Regions from separate parts of the Homo sapiens genome. Here all the other regions are linked to region 1. Evidence: promoter capture Hi-C in human tissues and cell types (Jung and others, 2019). All regions are on one chromosome and are shown on one strand. Each heading gives the region's core, a stretch centred on a gene start or on the middle of the fragment in contact. The rest is flanking DNA. Distances are from core to core; before and after follow the strand shown.

Region 1 (3,967 bases), core at 968-3,467:
TTCTCTGAAACTTGACCCAAACAATGTAACAGAAAAGCAGAAATAAAATGTAAAGAAAAATGCTAGGCGCGGTGGCTCACGCCTGCAATCCCAGCATTTTGGGAAGCCGAGACAGGTGGATCACCTGTGATCAGCAGTTTGAGACCAGCCTGACCAACATGGTGAAACCTCGTCTCTACAAAAAATACAAAAAATTAGCCTGCGTGGTGGCGTGTACCTGTAATCCCAGCTACTCAGGAGGCTGAGGCAGGAGAATAGCTTGAACCCAGGAGGCAGAGATTGCAGTGAGCCGAGATTGCACCACTGCACTCCAGCCTGGGCGACAGAGCGCGACTCTGTCTTAAAAAAAAAAAAAAAAACTAGCCGGGCATGGTGGCGCAAGCCTGTAATCCCAGTTACTCGGGAGGCTGAGGCACAAGAATCACTTGAACTCAAGAGGCAGAGTTTGCAGTGAGCTGAGATCAGGCCACTGCACTCCAGCCTGGGTAACAGAGCAAGACTCCGTCTCAAAAACAAACCAACAACAAAAAAAAAGCATGGTAAATAACACAAAATACAACAGAAAAAAAAATCCAATTATAATTAATAAAAATAGCTAAATTCTAGCTAACAGAGATATATTTTCAGAATACATTTTCTAAAAAGTCCAGTTATAGGCTATGTCTGAGAGACAGGTGAAAAACATAATGGAATATTATCATATAAATGAATTGACACAAATATATCTCGAAAACATAATGGAGAATGAAAAAAGATGCAAAATGATTATTCAGTATGGTGTCATTTTTGTAAAGTTTAAAAACAAAATTAGGTATTCCATATAGCATTGCTGGATCTCTACATCATATGTAATAAAAGTATAAAAACACAAACTGGAATGATATGTACCAACTTGAGCACGGTGACTATCTGTGGGGCGGAAGAAGAAATGAGAGTGGGGCCGTCGTTATGACTAATTTTGTATGTCTTTAATAAATCCCAAGTACATGCAGCAAAATGTATTGATGTCTGTTTAATCTTGATAGTGGGGGGCGTGGGTAGTATTAATATTATTTTCCGTACTCTTCCGTAGGCCTCTAATATTTCCCTCTTTACAGAACACTGACACACGCTCAGGGCTCCCCGGGACATCTTTGTGCACATCAACATTTATGCTGAGAGTAGCTTCTGGACTCCAAAGAGGAAACTCCCCGGGCACTGTGGCCCACGCCTGTTATCCCAGCACTTTGGGAGGCTGAGGTGGGCAGATCGCTTGAGCCCAGGCGTTCGAGACCAGCCTGGGCAAAATAGCGAGACCCACCCCCGCCCCCCATTGCTACAAAAACATTTACAAACTAGCCGGGCGTGGTGACCCCCGCCTGTGGTCCCAGCTGGTCGGGAGGCTGAGGTGGGAGGATCTTTTGAGCCCGGGAGGTCAAGGCCGCGGTGAGTCGAGATCGCACCACTACACTCCAGACCGGGCGACAGAGAAAGACATCCATTCACTCCCCCAAAAGAAGGGGAAATTCGCTGAGGCTGAGCGCTGGTTTCCCAAGGTGGGGCTGGCACCTGCTGAAGCTGCCACAGGAGTGGAGAGGCCGTAGGGAGACTTGGAAAGAACCTGGAAAGGGGGCCGGGGCTATGGAGCCAAGGCTGCAGCAGGGCTGGATGGTGTTTGTAGTTTGTGCAGAATAGGAGGCAGTTTTTAAAGCCGAGATACAGCTCTGGTTGACTGGAGCGGGGAGGGGTGGGTGTGAGAGGTCAGGAAACCAGCGGCTGGAGGCCGGGGGCCTGGAGCGGCAGGGCTGGCGGGCAGACGTTAGGCCCCAGGCAAAATGGGCGCACCCCCTGCGGGGGCCCGAGGTGACCTGCTCGAGGTCCGGTCGCCCAGGTTCCACCTGGAGAAGAAAATCTTCGTAATTTGGCTGGGGGAGGGGGGATGCGGGCACAGGCTGTGTTCTCCACGTCGCGTAGACGCAGAGGCCATCCCTGGGTCGGAGAGTCTCCGTGGAGTGGCACCCCAGCGTTCCCCGTACGCCGGGGCCACTTTGTCGGGCTGACGGGGGTCCCTCCAGGTGGCCGCCGGCGGCGGGTCCCGAGCCAGACCGGGAAGCGGGGAGCAGCCCTCAGCCCGCGAGCGTGGGGCCGGGGCAGACTGGAGGCCGGGCGGGCCCCGCCGAGGGTGGGGCGGGGCCGGGCGCACGGGGGCGGACCTCGGCGCGCTCCCGGCCGCTCGCTGGCTCCGGGGCCGCGGCGGCTCCTCTGCCGGGTCGCGCCGGACGACTGGCTTCGGGCGGCGGCCCCGGCGGCCTGTGGACGGACGGGTGGGCCGAGGTACAGGCCCCACGGCCGCCGTCTCCCGCTTCTGCCCGCGCAGAGTCCGCGCCATGGCCGCCTCGCCGGGCTCGGGCAGCGCCAACCCGCGGAAGTTCAGTGAGAAGATCGCGCTGCACACGCAGAGACAGGCCGAGGAGACGCGGGCCTTCGAGCAGCTCATGACCGACCTCACCCTGTCGCGGGTGAGGGCCCGGGCCGGCGCGGGCGGGGGCGGCCACGGCCGCGGGCGGGACCCGCGCGGCGGGTGAGAGGTTGCGGGGCCAAGGCGATGGCGGGGCCGGGCGGGGGCCGCGCCCGGGAACCGGCGGCTGGGAGGGGGACCGGAGCGGCCGCGGCCTCGGCGTTTCCCCGCCTGGCGACACCCGCTAGCCGTTCGCGATCCCGGGCTGAGGTGGGAGGGTCGCCCGGCCCCGTGTGCGGGAAGATGGGCAGGGGTGAAGCCCGTGGAGGCGGGCGGCCGTGCGAGGGCGGCCTGAGGGGGAGGAGGACGAGGAGCCCCGAGAGGAAATCGCAAACAGCTCGGAGGCCGGCCGGGTGGCGCGGCGCGGCTTCTGGTCGCTCCGAACATCCCCCACCATCGAGCCCTGCTGTTCTGCCGGCGTGGAAGGCCGCGGGCACCCCAGGGTCCCACGCGCTCGTGGGGGGAGCTCTGTGCACAAGTCCATCCAGGGCCCGGCCCTGGGGTGGCTCGGGTTGTTGGAACCACGACGGGATTCCGTGTCGAGTGTGAGGCTCTGCTCCTTTTACTCCTTGGAGGTGCTTTATCGGGTCCAGTTTACTTTGTTCGGCCCGGGATATTTAGTGAGAACTGACAAGCGTCGCTGGTGACTGGAGAGGGACCTGGAGGAATGAGTAAGGCGCGAGCCGGGACAAACACCTGGAGAGGTTAGGTAACCGCTGAGTGAGGCAGTGGAGGATGGAGAGCCAACCGGAGTGTCCGCGCAGGGTTGCAGAGAAGGGGGGTCAGCAGGAGTGGGGCTGGCCTTGAGGATCCTGAATGCTGACCTTGGAGGACCATCGGGAGGATGGGGGAGGATCTGCAGATTCTGGGGGACTGAGGCGGGGGAGACAGTTTGAAGGAGAGCTGAGAGCAGAGTTGCAAACCAGCTGAGTTGCAGACACATTATTTTTTGGCCAGCGCAGTGTTTGGGAAAAATTATTGAATCTGTTGCCAGAATTTTTAAATTGGAAGACTTCCACACAAAATCCAAATTTCCGTATTATTTATTTATTATTATTTATATATGTTAAAAATTGGGAGACCTGGTAACACTAATTCTGAATTCCTACATGACAGCTACCGACCTGCTGGAGCTGGGTGATGATGAAAGGGAGCTGAGCTGAGCTCCCTTTCAAATGGAGTAAGAACTCTAGTTTGCCACCGTCCACTCTCTGTCACAGTCCCCCAAGGGGAGATTAGGTGACAGTTGCCATTTATACTCATGATGGTGTTTTCTTTCAGTGAAGTTAAGGAAAAAGTGAAATATTTCCTGTACTTACATTTCTGTTCACATTGAGAAAAAATATATATATAGAGAGAAAGAAGCTGAAGATTTCAAGAAAATGTTTTCTTATACCCTATCAGCTTCACTCATTTTTTACCTGCCTGGCATCCACTGGCATTTACATCTGTGACCTTGGTTAGATTCAG
Region 2 (3,967 bases), core at 806-3,305, 510 kb before region 1:
CCAGCCACATCAGACACTTCGAGGAGGATTACGGATTGGCTCTGCAGTCCTGCCTTTGAAGTTCCCAGCTTTTATCAGAATGTCTGAACCTTAGCGTTATTTCAAGGGAGCTTTTCTTTCTGTCTGTAAACTGGCCTCAGGTAGGTGCCAGCTGCTGCCAGGTGCTGAGGGAGCATTTCCTGGCTCCCTAAGCTGGTGCATTCACTTTGTTTTATGGCAGGGAACTTTTTAGGGGTAAAGGCACTTGGTACTTGGAAGATTCTGGGAGAATAACTTTTTAAAAATATTTTTCTATTCAGAAGTGCCATTGGATAGCATGTCTTTAATTAAAGGGAGGGAGAGGTGCATTTTTATTATTTGTTTCCCAGAACCACCTGTGCTGTTTTTCAAAGTAGGGTATTGACTGCTTCCTCCTTGCTGATGAGAAATGCTGTATGGAGAACAAAGCTGAAAGTGTTGGCCATATATAATACAAGGCTGTAATTTACAGGCTATAGCTTCACCAGGGGAAGAATTTGATGTCTTTAAGAGATACAAAATCATCCAGCTCCGGCTGTCCTTGTGTGTGGTGCCATATTTATTTTCTAACTTGGAGTCATCATTCTTTAAGAAAGAAGCAGGGTCCTTTTGGGCTGAGGAATGCTCTCGGGGGTAGGAAGTTTTCGGGATCTGTGGGCCTGAGCTGGCATGTCCAACATCCTGTCACTATACTGCTTGGCATCTTGCAAGGGATGCATCCTAATGACCCATCCTGTCCACTTTTGTTTGGTTACTTGGTGAAGGTGGGAGTGTCTTGAACAGCATGGTGCTGTTCCCCTGGAAAGTTTATACTCATCAGTGCCCAGTTGTTTGCAGAATTCGAGAATGGATGGGAAGCACCCAGGAAACGGTTCCCAAATGGATGCATTTTGATATCTGAAATAGACTTTAAAGCTTTTGGCTTTTGATCATAAAGGGACCGGCAACATTGAGACACCTCCCCACTGCTCCTCAGGTTTTCCTGGTGCTTGAATAATTAAGGCCATGCCCTATGGAATCTCCTTCCTTGGGCTCCAGGGCATCTCTCTTAGCAAAGGCTAGCTTCTCACTCACAGTGTGCTGTGAGCGCTCTGGACGTCCTACCCAGCATTCTGCTCCATCATCTTCTTGTGTTCTGTCTCCCCCAGAAAAACTTCTGTGTAACATCAGCTGTGTTCTTTTGCTTCAATTACAGAGCTTGTTAGAATTTCTCTTCCAAATCCCTGTTTTGGGGCTTTTCTTTTCTTTTTTCTTTTTTTTTTTTTTTTGAAATGGAGTCTTGCTCTGTCACCCAGACTGGAGGACAGTGGCGTGATCTCGACTCACTGCAACCTCCGCCTCCCGGATTCAAGCAGTTCACCTGCCTCAGCTTCCTGAATAGCTGGGATCACAGGCGTGTGCCACCACACCCAGCTACTTTTTGTATTTTTAGTAGAGCCGGGGTTTCACCATGTTGGCAGGCTGGTCTTGAACTCCTGACTTCAGGTGATCCGCCTACCGTGGCCTCCCAAAGTGCTGAGATTACAGGCGTGAGCCACCGCGCCCAGCTGGGGTTTTCCTACCGTGGTTGTAAAAATTCATTTCTTGTCGCCACCTAGATTAACAAATCTCAGATTAAGAACTGGCCTTTTTTCGCCTCCTCTTTGAATTCACTGTCTAAAGAAACGGCCATTGCCCTTTCCGTAAACCAGGACAGAGGTCATGTCTGCTTTGCCTTTTTGCACCTTGGCCCCTGCCTGCCCCTCACCTCCCCACTCAGCTACAGTGACTGGAAGGGCCCACACAGGAAAGCTGGGCCCTGGGTCTTCATGGACGTTGCTGGAGGATGTGTCTCCCTGCTGGTGGCTCTCAGTCTTCCTGTGCTCAGTAGGGCCTTCTGGAGGATTCTAATTTCCCTGTCCTGGAAACCACCTTGAAAATATTCTTAAATATTCTTAGGTGGATTTAAGATGTCTCTGTCTAGTGGTTTTTTGTTTGTTTGTTTGTTTTTTAATCCATCTTAGATTTGAATGCCCAAGGAATGAACAGTCTCTTGGATCTTGTATCTCTTCCTTTTGTTTTTTAGAAAATAGCTTTTATTGATTTTTTTTTCTTGCTACAAAGAGGTTGATGATTATTGCAGAAAATTTAGGGACTATAAGTAGGCAAAAAAGATAAAAACCACCTATAATTATTAATATTTTAGTATATTGTATAGCCCCCCCAGAATATTTTTCAATTTCAAAAGATGAGATCATACTGTTTGTACCATCTTATTACTTTTTCTTTCTTTTTTTTTTTTTTTTTTTTTTGCTTTTACTTTACAACATGTGATTAAAATTTCCATCAGGTTAAGCAGCCTCCGTCAAGTCACTTTAAAGGGTTGTATAGTTCTTTTGAACAGATGGACTATCATTTATTTAACCAATCTCCTACATTTAGCTTGTTTCCTCTGTTTCTGTCTTGTAAAGAATGCTGTGGTAAACATCCTTGGGTATATTTGCCCACAGACTTGGTTATTTCCTTGGGATACATCTCCAGAAGAGAATCACTGGGCCAAGGACACATTCTAAAGGCTGTTCGTCTAGATGGGTAAATTGCCCCCAGACACATTGTATCATATTTGGATTCTGTTTAGCCAAATACTAACTCCCATTCTTTTAAACATGGTTGTGAGTCTTTCAGACCTCTGTTTCCTAATGTTTCTCACGGGTCATACAGGTTGGCTGAGAGTAAATGGCAAGGAAGGGCCTGAGAGACTCCGGGCACAGCTGACCTAGGAAAGGGAGTCTGTCATCCTGGCCCGTCGCTTTACAATGGGAGTGCGAGGGCTGGGCCCAGAGACCCTGTCTTGCCTCCCATGACCCCAGGAAGCTGCAGGCCTGTGGCTCCCCAGGGTAACCTTCTCTGGTGCCAGCCGTTAGGGTGCCCGGGACAGAGAGCTGGCTTTGAGGATTCCAGAGTCTGTCAGAGAACTTAGGCTGGTCTTTCTTCCAAGAGAATGCTCCTAAACAAACATCCTGCCCTAATCCAGAGACTAGGTTGGTGCTTATTGGGGGGCGGTGAGTGGGGGAGCCGAGGATTTCCTGTGGAGGCCTCAGACTCTAGCCCAGGAGTCCAGGCCAAGGAAGTGCCTCTGCCCAGACTTTCAGCCCCTTGAAGCCCAGTTCTTCGTCATCACTTGGTGTGGGGAACAGAGGGAAGTTTGATGGAATTACTGAGGAAGTAGCATTTACGTGGTCTAAATCGGACCTTCCTGTTCCCACTGCTGACCGGCTCTTCCTCCTTTTCCGCTGTCTTCCTCCTGCGTGACAGCGCATTCTTCATGGGGCCTCTGGGGCCCTTCCTGTGGGCTGAGCTTCTTTCTTCCCTTTTCTCTCCTGCCGGGACCTAGACTGGTGCCCACCTTCAGGACTGGGCACATCCAGGCACCTCACAGCCCCTTCCCTCCTCCAGCTCTGCTACCAACGCCCCTGCACCCTTCCGTCCAGGCAGGGCTGTCCCAGCTGAGGCCCAAGCCCAGCCCACCCTTTCTTCTCAGTTCTGCCAAGAAGGCCATGGGGGCTGGTGGAGGCCCGAACTGCCTCCCCGCCCCCGGGGAGACACAGCATGCCAGCTGCTGCCGGGATGGGTTACAAAAAACAAAAACACAAACCCCAGCCCCTTGAGATGAGGGACGTTTCGGTTTCTGTGAACCTGACGCCTCATGTGTGTTGGAAATGAGAGGCGCAGTTTGGGAGAAGGAGGCTGCATGTTTCCCCTGGGGTGGGCTTTGTTTAAATTTTAATATGCTCTTCCTTTTTCTCAAAGTGCCAGCAATGGCTCCCAGCTCCTTTGTCATTTTAGCCCCGTTATCTGTCTGGGGATGAGATCTCTTATCTGCCCGGTCCTCCCTCTCCTCCCTGAATGGCGGGTCCCCCACCCGCCTCCCCGCAACTTGTGACAGTGTTACAGATCTCATTCTGCAACC
Region 3 (3,967 bases), core at 1-2,500, 290 kb before region 1:
AGGCTGGACTGCAATGGTGCGATCTCGGCAGTGCCTGGTGGCACATGCCTGTAGTTCCAGATACTTGGGATGCTGAGGTGAAAGAATCCCTTGAGCCTGGGAGGTCAAGGCTTCAGGGAGACATGTATGCACCACTGCACTCCTGCCTGGGTGACAGAGTGAGAACCTGTTTCAAAATAAAATAGGCCGTGGCTGGGCGCAGTGGCTCACACCTGTAATCCCAGCACTTTGGGAAGCCGAGGTGGGTGGATCACCTGAGGTCAGGAGTTCAAGACCAGCCAGACCAACATGGTGAAACCCTGTCTCTACCAAAAATACAAAATTAGCTGGCTGTGGTGGCACATTCCTATAATCCCAGCTACTTGGGAGGCTGAGGCCAGAGAATCGCTTGAACCTGGGAGGTAGAGGTTGCAGTGAGCCAAGATAGCGCCATTGCACTCCAGCCTGGGTGACAGAGTGATAAATAAATAAATAGGCCAGGTGCAGTGGCTCAGGCCTGTAATCCCAGCACTTTGGGAAGCCGAGAGGGGAGGGTCACCGGAGGTCAGGAGTTCAAGACCGGCCTGGCCAATGTGGTGAAACCCTGCCTCTACTAAAAATACAAAAATTAGCCGGGCCTGGTGGCGGGTGCCTGTAATTCCAGCTGCTTGGGAGGCTGAGGCATGAGAATCACTTGAACCCAGGAGGTGGAGGTTGCAGTGAGCCAAGATCGCGCCACTGCCCTCTAGCCTGGGCAACAGAGTGAGACTCTGTCTCAAAAAAATAAAAATAAATAAATAAGCTGTGCATGTTGGTTCATGCCTGTAATCCCAGCACTTTGGGAGGCCAAGGCAAAGGGATCACCCGATGTCAGGAGTTCAAGACCAGCCTGGCCAACATGGTGAAACACCATCTCTACTAAAAATACAAAAATTACCCGGGCATGGTGGTGCCTGCCTGTAACCCCAGCTGCCCAGGAGGCTGAGGCGGGAGAACCGCTTGAACCCAGGAGGCGGAGGTTACAGTGAACCAAGATCACTGCCACTGCACTCCAGCCTGGGTGACAGAGTGAGACTCCATCTCAAAAAAAAAAATAAATAAATAAATACAATGACAATCTCTGGAGGTGGGTTACCATCATGTGTTTTCATCTTTTATGACTATTTCAGGTCAGCTCTATGGCTCTTCCACATGATTCAAACGAAACTTCCTATTTGCTGCCTCCCAACAATGAGGACTGGGGCAGGCAAACCATTCCTGACTTTGTTTATGGGCAGAAGGATCTCATGGCAGAAGGGATTCAGTGGCCAAGGAATGCACCTGGCATCCCAGATGCTCTGCCACAATCTCCCTTTGATGCTGCACTCTGCTCTGCCTGGAAGCAGCGGGTGGAGCTGGGGCTGTTTCGCTACCGTCTACGGGAGCTACAGACCCAAATCCTCCCTGGTGCTGTGGGTTTCGTGGCTCAGCTGAATGTGGAGCGTGGTGTGCAGAGGAGGCCCCCGCAGACCATCAAGAGTGTGAGGCAGGCATTTGACCCTGTACAGTTCAACTTCAACAAGATCCGGCCCGGAGAAGTCCTCTTCCGTTTGCACCGGGAGCCTGATCTCCCTGGGACTCTGCTGCAAGAAGACATCCTGGTGGTGATCAACGTCAGCCCCCTGGAGTGGGGCCACGTGCTGCTGGTGCCTGAGCCTGCCCGCCAGCTCCCCCAGCGCCTGCTGCCGGGTGCACTGAGGGCAGGGATTGAGGCTGTGCTGCTGAGCTTACACCCGGGCTTCCGTGTCGGCTTCAACAGCCTGGGAGGCTTGGCCTCGGTGAACCACCTCCACCTGCATGGCTATTACCTGGCCCACAGACTGCCCGTGGAGCAGGCGCCAAGCGAGCCCCTGGACCCTGGAGGCCATTTGCATCTGCTCCAGGACCTCCCAGCTCCTGGCTTCCTCTTTTACACTCGTGGGCCAGGGCCTGACTTGGAGTCCTTGATAAGCAGGGTATGTCGGGCCACTGATTATCTGACTGACCATGAGATTGCTCATAACTTGTTTGTCACCCGGGGAGCTCCGCCGGGAAAGACATCACCTTCCTCAGCCCTCACAGGGGTCCGAGTAATTCTGTGGGCCCGGAAGTCCAGCTTTGGGATAAAGGACGGTGAAGCTTTCAATGTTGCCCTCTGTGAGCTGGCTGGGCACCTCCCTGTCAAAACATCCCAGGACTTCAGCAGCCTGACAGAGGCAGCTGCTGTGGCCCTCATTCAGGACTGTCGGCTGCCCCCATCCCAGGCAGAAGACGTACAGGCAGCACTGGTGGCCCTGATGTCCCAGGAAGAGCAATAATACTTCTGGATGTATTTATGTTCTTTTTTTCTTTTCTTTTGAGATAGGGTCTCACTCTGTCCCCAGGCTAGAGTGTAGTGGTATGATCCTGGCTCACTGTAGCCTCCACCTCTGGGGCTGAAGTGATCCTCCCACCTCAGCCTCTTGAGTAGCTGAGACTATAGGCGTGCACCACCACACACCTGGCTTTTTTTTTTTTTTTTTTTTTTTTTAACGATTAGGTGATTTTGTATTTTTTTATATAGACAGCGTTTCACCATGTTGCCCAGGCTGGTCTTGAACTCTTGGGCTGAAGCAGTCCTCCCACCTCGGCCTCCCAAAGTACTGAGATGACAGGAGTGAGCCCCTGGATTCTTTTCTGTTTCTTTTTTTTTTTTTTTTTTTTTTTTTTTTTTTGAGATAGTCTCGCTCTGTCACCTAGGTTGGGGTGCACTGGTACAATCTCGGCTCACTGCAACCTCCACCTCTAGGGTTCGAGTGATCCTCCTGGCTCAGCCTCCCGAGTAGCTGGGACTATACAGGCTCCTGCCACCAAACCCGGCTAATTTTTTTGTATTTTTAAAAGAGAAGGGGTTTCACCACATTGGCTAGGCTGGTCTTGAACTCCTGACTTTAGGTGATCCGCCCGCCTCGGCCTCCCAAAGTGCTGGGATTACAGGCGTGAGCCACCACACCCAGCCAGGATGTATTCATTTTCTACCTGATGAGTCCCTTTCCAGAGCACTGTCCATCATAGTCCTTTGGACATTTATTTTCATGGCTGCCTTCTCACCTGTCTCAGCCTAAGAAGAAGGATGAAGAAAGCTGATAATGATCTCTTAAAGGGGAGAAAGATAATGGTCTCTTTAAAGGGGAGCTGATAGTGGTCTCTTTAAAGGGGAGAAAATCTGGAATAATTCTACTGAGTAAGACATCATGAATGTATCTGCTACCTCTCCCCGTTCTTGTTCAAGCCCCAGGGGTGTTAAAAAGGAGTGTGTGTGACAGTTACACACTCCTGACTTTACATTTAGATTTTGTCTTCCTTTGATATCAAATGTTAGCACGGTAATAGTGCCTGTGCCTCCAGTATTGAGCTGCCACTTCTGTTCTCAGCCTGTTTATTCCCCTTTGCTCACCACTTATTTTTATTGCTTTGTCCCTTCTTTCCATTTAGCCCTGCTCCACCCAAATGCCCCACTCCTTCACTTTCCCTGCCACCTTGAGCTTTCCTCTAGCCCCCAACACCAAGTTGAATGCTCTTCACTGACATCATCTGATGTAAAAACACAGTGTTGTCACAACTTTCCGGGTGCACGTCTTTTTTTGTTTTGTTTTTTTGTAAGGCTGGGGTGCAGTGGTGCAATCACAGCTCACTGCAGACCCAAACTCTTGGTCTCAAGCCACCCTCCCACCTCAGCCCCCTGAGTAGCTGGGACGATAGGTGTGCACCATCACACCTGGCTAATTTTTAAATTTTTTGTAGAGATAGGGTCTTGCTATGTTGCCCGGGTTGCTGTCAAACTCCTGGCCTTAAGAAATCCTCCCACCTCGGCCTCCCAGAGTGCTAAGATGCCACCACACCTTGGTGCAGGTTTTTTTTTTTTTTTTTTTTTTTTTTTTTTGACACAGGGTCACTGTCACCCAGGCTGGAGTGCAGTGGTATGAAGACA

The links. Contacts are between HindIII fragments. The study calls those that stand out against the background at their distance.
Region 2: a fragment that was not itself captured here is called in contact with the fragment with the promoter of CRTC3 in region 1 in 1 of the 25 tissues and cell types used here (spleen).
Region 3: a contact is called between a fragment that was not itself captured here and the fragment with the promoter of CRTC3 in region 1, in 5 of the 25 tissues and cell types used here (H1 embryonic stem cells, aorta, dorsolateral prefrontal cortex and 2 more).

The regions. Positions count from the first base shown.
Region 1 is chr15:90,527,706-90,531,672 of GRCh38, forward strand. CRTC3 (CREB regulated transcription coactivator 3) reads left to right here and starts at 2,218. Exons shown (of 15, transcript NM_022769.5): 1 at 2,218-2,498. The coding sequence starts at 2,367. RefSeq lists silencers at 1,672-1,721, 1,822-2,571, 2,592-2,771 and an enhancer at 3,162-3,321. The HindIII fragment of the contact is 24,563 bases long and covers 1-3,967 here.
Region 2 is chr15:90,016,901-90,020,867 of GRCh38, forward strand. All of the region lies in intron 1 of ZNF710 (zinc finger protein 710), which reads left to right. Among named protein-coding and RNA genes, the nearest start is that of MIR3174, 12 kb to the left of the region's middle. The HindIII fragment of the contact is 6,651 bases long and covers 1-3,967 here.
Region 3 is chr15:90,239,752-90,243,718 of GRCh38, forward strand. It overlaps GDPGP1 (GDP-D-glucose phosphorylase 1), which reads left to right. Exons shown (of 4, transcript NM_001013657.3): 4 at 1,149-3,967. The coding sequence starts at 1,158. The coding sequence ends at 2,315. It also overlaps a transcript of CIB1 not described here. Among named protein-coding and RNA genes, the nearest start is that of GDPGP1, 7.5 kb to the left of the region's middle. The HindIII fragment of the contact is 7,306 bases long and covers 1-3,967 here.